Linked DNA regions of Homo sapiens: region 2 is linked to region 1. Evidence: promoter capture Hi-C in 16 types of primary human blood cells and fetal thymus (Javierre and others, 2016). All regions are on one chromosome and are shown on one strand. Each heading gives the region's core, a stretch centred on a gene start or on the middle of the fragment in contact. The rest is flanking DNA. Distances are from core to core; before and after follow the strand shown.

The links. The method cuts DNA at HindIII sites, captures the fragments that hold promoters and counts their contacts. A CHiCAGO score of 5 or more calls a contact.
Region 2: a fragment that was not itself captured here is called in contact with the fragment with the promoter of ZNF774 in region 1 in 6 of 17 cell types (total B cells, activated CD4 T cells, naive CD8 T cells and 3 more); the score reaches 8.1 in total B cells.

What each region holds. Positions count from the first base shown.
Region 1 is chr15:90,350,781-90,354,803 of GRCh38, forward strand. It overlaps ZNF774 (zinc finger protein 774), which reads left to right and starts at 1,504. Exons shown (of 4, transcript NM_001004309.3): 1 at 1,504-1,631; 2 at 3,862-3,984. The coding sequence starts at 3,881. The HindIII fragment of the contact is 4,226 bases long and covers 1-3,516 here.
Region 2 is chr15:90,622,814-90,627,156 of GRCh38, forward strand. CRTC3 (CREB regulated transcription coactivator 3) reads left to right here. Exons shown (of 15, transcript NM_022769.5): 10 at 2,963-3,180. The region is part of intron 3 of CRTC3-AS1 (CRTC3 antisense RNA 1); the gene reads right to left. Among named protein-coding and RNA genes, the nearest start is that of LINC01585, 35 kb to the right of the region's middle. The HindIII fragment of the contact is 9,195 bases long and covers 1-4,343 here.

The DNA.
Region 1 (4,023 bases), core at 254-2,753:
CACCTCCCGGGTTCACATCATTCTCCTGCCTCAGCCTCCCGAGTAGCTGGGACTACAGGCGCCCGCCACCACGCCCGGCTAATTTTTTCTATATTTAGTAGAGACGGGGTTTCACCATGTTAGCCAGGATGGTCTCGATCTCCTGACCTCGTGATCCTCCCGCCTCGGCCTCCCAAAGTGCTGGGATTACAGGCGTGAGCCACCACGCCCTGCCCCCAGAACGATCTTGAGAACAGAATGTTCCCAATAAATATCCACTGGAAAATGCACCTTATTTTTGTTGAAGGAATGGTGGAATTAGCATCAAAGGGATCTTCAACATTAACTCGGGCCGGGCACGGTGGCTCACGCCTGTAATCCCAGCACTTTAGGAAGCCGAGGCGGGCGGATCACGAGGTCAGGAGATGGAGATCATCCTGGCTAACATGGTGAAACCCCGTCTCTACTAAAAATACAAAAAATTAGCCGGGTGTGGTGGCGGGCGCCTGTAGTCCCAGCTACTCGGGAGGCTAAGGCAGGAGAATGGTGTGAACCTGGGAGGCAGAACTCGCAGTGAGCCGAGATCGTGCCACTGCACTCTAGCCTGGGCGACAGAGCGAGACTCCGTCTAAAAAAAAAAAAAAAAAAAAACTCTATGGCTGGTAATTCTAAGCGTTTTATAATACATCACAAAATGTTCTTTTATTTTTCTAAATTGCACTGAATCAACAAACGGAGTAGACAGGCACATTTTCTTCACTTTAAGGAAAGACTTTGTTGTTTTTTAGCTAGGGGCCGACCCAAAGTGATCACTGGCTCTCACATGAGACCCAGGAGCCTCCCCAGTTTGAAGCCCGATATCACATTTCCCAGAATACTTGATGCCCTCGCCCGCCTCCTCTGGCTATCAACCAGACGGAAAGGGGATGTGCCTGGGAGTTTGATGCCAAGGGAAGGATGCGGAATGTCTGTTTTCTACTAAGGGCTTCTGCTGGGCCTTTCCAATGTCCAGTTTGAGTTGGTCTGGGACCTGGCCTCCGCAAACACCCTGCAGGCTCCGGCCGCCGGGGATGAGGTGGAAGACTGGGCAGAAGAGAGGCCGCAAAGGCCCGAGGGCTGAGCTGCTCTGCGCTGGGGAGGGGCGAAGTGCCAGAGCGCGGGAGACCTCATGGTGGGCACCAGGCTGCTCCGCGGTAGGTGGGTGAGGCCAGGAGATTCACATCTGCAGATGCCACAGTGAGGATACAGCATTTAGATCCCTCGGCTCCAAACAGGCGGTTCCGGGGGACCGGTAGCTGGGGAATTGGGTTTAGCACTTTCCAACGCTTGGAACTGGACATCCACGGCTCCGAGTCCTTTGAGGTCTTGCTCGGGACTACGTTTCCCAGAAGGCTAGGCGATAATTGACAGCTCTATCAGCCTATGGACAGAGAAAAATTCTAGCCATGGAAACTGAAAAGCCAATAGCAAGAGGATGGGGGCGGTACTTTCCGGCCGCTGGCTGTCGAAGCCGGAGTCCCACCTGTGTCCCCACAGCCCTGTCACGAATCCCGGTCGGGTTCTGGGAGGCACAGCCTCGGGGTTGCGGGCCGGGTGCGGCTCGGCGGTGGAGGACTCACTTCCTGCTCCATCCCCGGCTGGGCCCTGGGGCGGTGAGTGATTCAAGGAGGGAGACCGCGGCGGCAGCGGCGCGCTGCTGAGGGGCGTGGAGGGGGCTTGCCCGCCACCCAGACGTTTTCTCAGCGGGGTTCCCGCGCTGGCCTTTGGGAGCCCCCGGGTCTTGCTGGGCTGTGGGAGAGGTAGCTGTGGTCTCTATACCGTCGGCGGGATAAGTCATTCTCTTAATCAGTTTTCTTGCTTCTCGATGGTGGTCCCAGGGTTTCAGCTGATCTGTGACCCTCTGACCGCCGCACCCCGGTTAGGGCGCGAGCACCGAGAAGAAGAACGGGGTTCGGCCCCACGCGTGCAGTCATGTTCCTATTAATAAACCCGGTGAACGCACTGGAGCTTCTCACAGTGGCACTTAGTCACAGCCCCTCAGCGCTGTGGGGCCTTTGAGGTCACCTGTGCATGGGGAAAGGGACGGGCTGGGAAACAGGGTTTCTATAACCGTGGCTAAGACGTCTCCCCTCCTCAGTGGCGCTGTCTCCAGCAAGTGGGCCCTGCAGCTGTGTTTTGTAATGAATGTAGAAATAAAAATTATACTCAAAACTCTTTTTTTTTTTTAGACGGAATTTCGCTCTTGTTGCCCAGGCTGGAATGCAATGGCGCTATCTCCTTTCACTGCAGTCTCCACCTCCCGGGTTCAGGCGATTCTCCTGCCTCAGCCTCCCAAGTAGTTGGGATTACAGGCGTGTGCCACCACACCCGGCTAATTTTGTATTCTTAGTAGAGACAGGGTTTCACCATGTTGGCCAGGCTGATCTCGAACTCCTGACCCCAGGTGATCCGCCCGTCTCGTCTTCCCAAAGTGCTGGGATTACAGTCATGAGCCACAGCACCTGGCCAATACTGAAAACTCTTATTACAATTTTTACTTTCTAATTACATTATTGTTGTTTGTTAAAGTTTTAAACCAGAGAGATGGTTTTTAGATCCTTAAAAACTCAATACTTTATAAATGACCAATAATAATGTCTGTAAATACAAAAATATTTCCCCCAAAAGTGTGTGTGTGTGTGTGTGTGTGTGTGTGTGTGTGTGTGTGTTCCAGTAGTAAATAGGTGATTTGTAGTGGGACAAAAGATGTGAAAGAGTAAAACTTCTTCACCACAGTCTGGTCCTTCCTCCCTTGAAATGCAATATTCTTTGTAGTGGGTGGTCATGCTGGCTGCATTTTTTTTTTTTTTAAGGGAGAGACAGGGGCTCACTCTGTTGCTAGGCTGGGGTGCAGTGGCGCCATCATAGCTCACTGCAGCCTGGAACTCCTGGGCTGAAGTGATCCTCCCACTTCAGCCTCCTGAGTAGCTGGGACCACAAGTGCATGCCACCATGCCTGGCTGATTTTTAAAAGTTCTTTGTAGAGAAAGAGGTCTCAATATGTTGCTGAGGCTGGTTTATTGGAAACTTTTTAAGGGAAAAAACATTATCTTAATTTCTATGTGACTCCTATGCCTGGCAACATATTAATTGTTGAATAAATGACTGATCCATCCAGTAATTCACTCTTGACTATCCTCCAAAAAGTAATGTTTTTCATGATATTGCTGTCGATTTATTAATATATTAATGATTGGTTTCAGCCCCTAAGAGTTGTGTTTTGTGCTTATTCCCACTTTCACTTATTTTTACAACCTATCCATGTCTTCTTTTTTTTAAAAAAAAAATGTCTTTTTCAGTCTTATTTCTGACTCCATTAAGATCTTGAAATAGAATGGTATCCAACACAGTTCCCTTTGGGGTTCTGTATAATCTGTCCCTTGAGGTTGACACCAAATCTGCAAGCCAAGAAGTTAGCTGCTCCCATAACTAATATGAGTATAGTTAAGGCCACAATTTCCTTGCTTGCTGAGGAAAATGAAGTTGGGGAGAATCAAAAGCTTTCCAGAAATCAAATTACACCTGCCAACTCTCTCCTTTGTTTACCTTGTTCATCGTGGACAATTTGTTCCTCAAAAAGTCAATGTGTCTAAAAGACTGGGTTCTGTCGATGTGTTTGGGAGGCCTAGGCCTCTCTTAGTAATGGGAAAGTTGGCCAGGAGAAGACGTATGTAAAAACAGACTTAGAAAAGCACCCCTCTGTGGTTGACAGAATTTACCTCAGGACCATTCTGGTCAGGTGTGGGGGGTTGTTTGTGTACACTGGTGGCCATTTTTTGGCTTTCAGACAATGGTGAGAATATCTAGGGAGCTACTGATGCACATTGAGGTCTCTTGCTTTAGGAACTGATGACGCTTGATAATGTGGCTGGGGACTTCAGGGAAGAGTGGGTTACCTGGACACTGCTTAGAGAATCCTCTCCAGGAATGCCACCCAGCACAGTTAGAAGAATGGGCTCTCAAAGGGTAAGAATGCTACTCTCCTTTATTTCATTTATTTATCTT
Region 2 (4,343 bases), core at 1,628-4,127, 270 kb after region 1:
GCACTCCAGCCTGGGCGACAGAGCAAGACTCTGTCTCAAAAAAACACAAAATAAAATAAAAAGACAAAATTTATATTCAGTTTTTCTACAACCAAAATGAGCCTTCTTCCTCACCCTCCGGTTGGACACCTCTCCTGCTGCCTCATTTCTTTCCAAAACTCCACAGTTCGCCCAGTCCTACTTTTACCAAGAAAAGTGAGGCGAGGCTGGCAGGAGTGAGTGCTCAGCTCTCTTCTGCCACTGATTCCCCCGTCACCACCCTTCTCTGGTCCTAGGGACACCGAGGTCCCTCCTAGTCAGGCCGGCCACTTTACCACTCCCTGGCCCTCCTCCCGCTGGATTTGTGGAGGCCTTTCTCTGCTAGTTAACTGTCCCTCATCTCCAGAATTCTCCGCCATGCTTTCTGAAAGCATATTTACTCTCAGGTGTTCCTTCCTGCTTACCCATCATCAGCCCACCATGCCCTGGCTGCCACCTCTGCTGTTCAGTGGAACCTTGAGAATGTCGGTTGCCTCCTGTACGTAACTGAGAGAGAAATATCCCTGCTGCATGTCTTCCTAGTGAGCAGAAACTCAAAGCCAAAATAGAATTCGTGATCTCATCCATACCCCTGCCCTCATTCCCAATCTGCTCACATCTTCAGTGTCCCCTGTCTCAGTGAGGGGCTCCACCAGTCCCCAGGCTAAAGGCCCCAGAGTTGTTCTTGAGTCCTACTTCCCTGTCTCTAGAGTCTAGCCTGCCTCTCCCTCCCTGCGCTCGTGGCCTCCTGCTGGAGCGTTCAGCAGAGTCATAGCGGCCTCTCCACCTCCAGGCCTGCTCCGTGCACCCCAAGACCCCTTCCCCAAGTCTGTTAGCCACGCTGTCCTAAGAAAAGCTGATACCTCTCCCCCACCACACTGCCCACCCCGCGTCCAGCCTTCCACTGGCGTCGTGTCAGCCTCTCATCAGTCCCAGCCTCGGGTGCTCTCTACCTGCTTTTCCACTTCCATCTCCCACCACTAACCAGCCCTCCTAAACTCAACCTCCCGTGGTCTGAATCCTCACAGTTCTGAGGGCACACCATGTGGTCTCACACCTCCCTGCTTTTGCGCATGCTGTGAGCTTTGCCTGAAATCTTTTTCCTGACTAGATCACCTGAGTTCTTTAGCCTTTAAACTAAGCTCAGATGTCCTCCAAGGAAGCCTCCCCAGGTCAGCTGGGCTTCCCTCCACATGGCCTCCCTCCAGGCTCTATCACTGCACTACTGAATTGTATTATGTTGCCGGTTATGCTCCTTATGGCTCAGTCTCTTGAAGCCCTGATGCCAGTGGCTGGCCCCTGGGAGGTGCTCTGCTGATGTGTGCAGGAGGGAATGAAGTGTCCTCAGGATTCGTGACTTCCCTCTGCTCCTGGCTGGTGGCACCTTCTCCCGCATTCTCCTCCGCGTCACCCTCACTGCTCTTTTCCTATATCACCCCTGGACCACTGCAGGTGGTCCTTCTAATTGGTTCTCCCTGCCTCTCCTTCTGCCTGCTGAGGCCATCCTCCACACTGGAACCACAGTGACATTTCTGAAACGCCATTCTCCAGCTTAACCTGGCCTCCCTCTTTCCACAGTCCCTGATCCAGACTCCTGAGAACAGCACATTCTCTCCCGCCTGCCTCTCCCTCCCCATGTGCCACCCTCCCTCCTCACCCTCTGCCCTGACACCTGACACCTCAGCCATGCCCAGCTACTCTTAATTCCACGCACACACTGTGTCACATCCATGGCAAACCCGTCCCCTCCACAGCCCATCCTGACATGGACAACTCCTGCTTTTTTGCTCCCGGTGTCACTTATATGCACTGGTTACACACACCCCTTCTCAAACCCAGCATAGCGCGCTTCCTGCCACGTTGCAGTTACTTGCTTTCCCAGGCTGTCTCTCCTGCCCATCTGTGAATTCCAAAACAAGGTCCTCTCAGACCTGGCTAGCAGGCCCCTCCCTGGGGCCCCGCCCTTGAGAGGGCTTCATTCCCAAAGGGAACGTACCACCAGTGTATACGCACTAGGCCTGGGGGGTGGCTAGAGAGTCAGCAGGGTGTGGACAGAGTTTGGCTGCATAGGCTGGGATAGCTATGTGCGTACTGCAGTACAGAACAGAACTAGGGGGAAGAGAAGGGGACGTGGACTGAGGGCCAGGCTGTCTCCCTGTGCATTCTGGCACAGAACTCCAAGAAGTCTGAGAATTCTACATGTAAATCTGGCTTCACAGGCTATTATGAAGGTATAATATGTCAGGATAGACACATAGAACAAAGTTCATGTAAGGGTTTGTTCATTTGATTTATAACTTTTAAAAATGGAAACAGATGGTATGCGGGCCTTCTTTTATACTCTTGCTCCAGGCCTGTACATTTCAGGAGTAGGCCTGACCCCGGCGGACACACTCGCCCTGCTTGTTCATCATGGTGCCGCCAACATGCGGCCCGCTGCCTGGCACACAGTGCCTAGCCCATAGATTGTGATGAATGAATGGCAACATCTCTTTGTCACTTTAAAGTTTATGAAGACTGTAATTTTAAAAATATATCTTGGAAGGTATATTGGAAGGTAGCTAGTTACTCAGAGATACTTTTTCTGGTAGCAAAGATAACTTAAAAATCTAGCAAAAAGAACTACATAAATAGCAGTGCCTCACATTTTATAGAGTGGTTTATAATTTTCAGAATACTTTTGCATCCATAATCTAATCTGGTCTTGATTATTCTAGACCCTAATCTAGTATTCCTGTAATGTGGGCACAGGTAGTGGGTGAGGATATGTGTTTCGGAGAGGTTAAGCCGAGCACCAGTGTTCTCAGAATCAGAGAGGCCGCACCAGGACCTCGGTCTTTTGTAGCCACTGCTCTTATTTGACAAGGAAAAGGTTTCAGCCATGTTTGGTTTCCCAACAGCCAAATACATTGTAGAAAGTCATTCTTAATCTTTCTTTTTTCAGTGCTTTTCCACATAATGGTCAAAACCTAGGCCTCTCACCCTTCTTGGGGACCTTGAACACTGGAGGGTCATTGCCAGATCTAACCAACCTCCACTACTCGACACCCCTGCCAGCCTCCCTGGACACCACCGACCACCACTTTGGCAGTATGAGTGTGGGGAATAGTGTGAACAACATCCCAGCTGCTATGACCCACCTGGGTATAAGAAGCTCCTCTGGTGAGTATCTCCTGCTTAGCAGTGACCTGGTGGCTTAATCATAGGTGGTCCCCACCCATGTGGCCTGTTCAGTGAATCATTGAATGAGAATGACTGCATCCCAGTTAGAGATGATAATGTACCTTCTTGTATCTCCTGACCCTGCGGACATTTTTCTTGGATGTTTCTGTTTCTCCTGGGTTGATGAATTTGGGGCAGCTCTGCTGAACCTCATTCCTTATCATCCTCACTCGCTGCTCTATCCAGGGACTTGGGGAATAAGATATGGGAGCCAAGAAATAAGCATCCACTCCGTGTTGGCTGAACAGTATTAGTGGCTGTCATCAACATATGATAATTTATAATTTAGGCCATCTCTCTGGATTCCTTTCATTTTCCATTAGATTTCTAAAGGCAATATTCTGCATTTTAGAAAATTTACAGTGGATATGATGAAAATATTTATACTTAATATCTGTGTGTGAAGTAGAAATCCCCCACAGTTCCAGTTAAAGATGTAGCATTAGCTATATAAAGATGCTACCCATAATGGGACTTGGGTGTTACTCTCTGGGTTTGATTGTCCACAGCTCAGACCCCATATTGAAATTATGACTACATTTGTTTGAAGCCTGACACTTTTTTTTTTTTTTTTTTGAGATGGGGTCTTACTCTGTCACCTAGGCTAGAGTGCAGTGGCACGATCTCAGCTCGCTGCAACCTCTGCTTCCCAGGTTCAAGCAATTCTTCTGCCTCAGCCTCCAGGGTAGCTGGGATTACAGGCATGTGCCACGATGCCGAGCTAATCGTTTTTGTATTTTTAGTAGAGACAGGGTTTCACCATGTTGGCCAGGCTGGTCTCGAACTCCTGACCTCAAGTGATCCACCCGCCTTGGCCTCCCAAAGTGCTGGGATTACAGGCGTGAGCCACCACTGACATACCCTTGTCAATGTCTAGGGCAGGTGATAATCCTCTTACTCCCAGTGGTGCAGTACAGCCCCTGGCCGTAACAGTCCTACCCAGAATTGTGTTGTGGAGCATTTCATTTGGAAGGGATGCTCAGTGATGGTCTCCAGGTGAAAGCAGTGTTTGCTGCCTTTCACTCTGAGACTCATCCATGCAAATCAGAACTCACCACCCAAATGAGAGTGGTCCCCTTCAGGGGGGGTCACCTGGAAGTTTT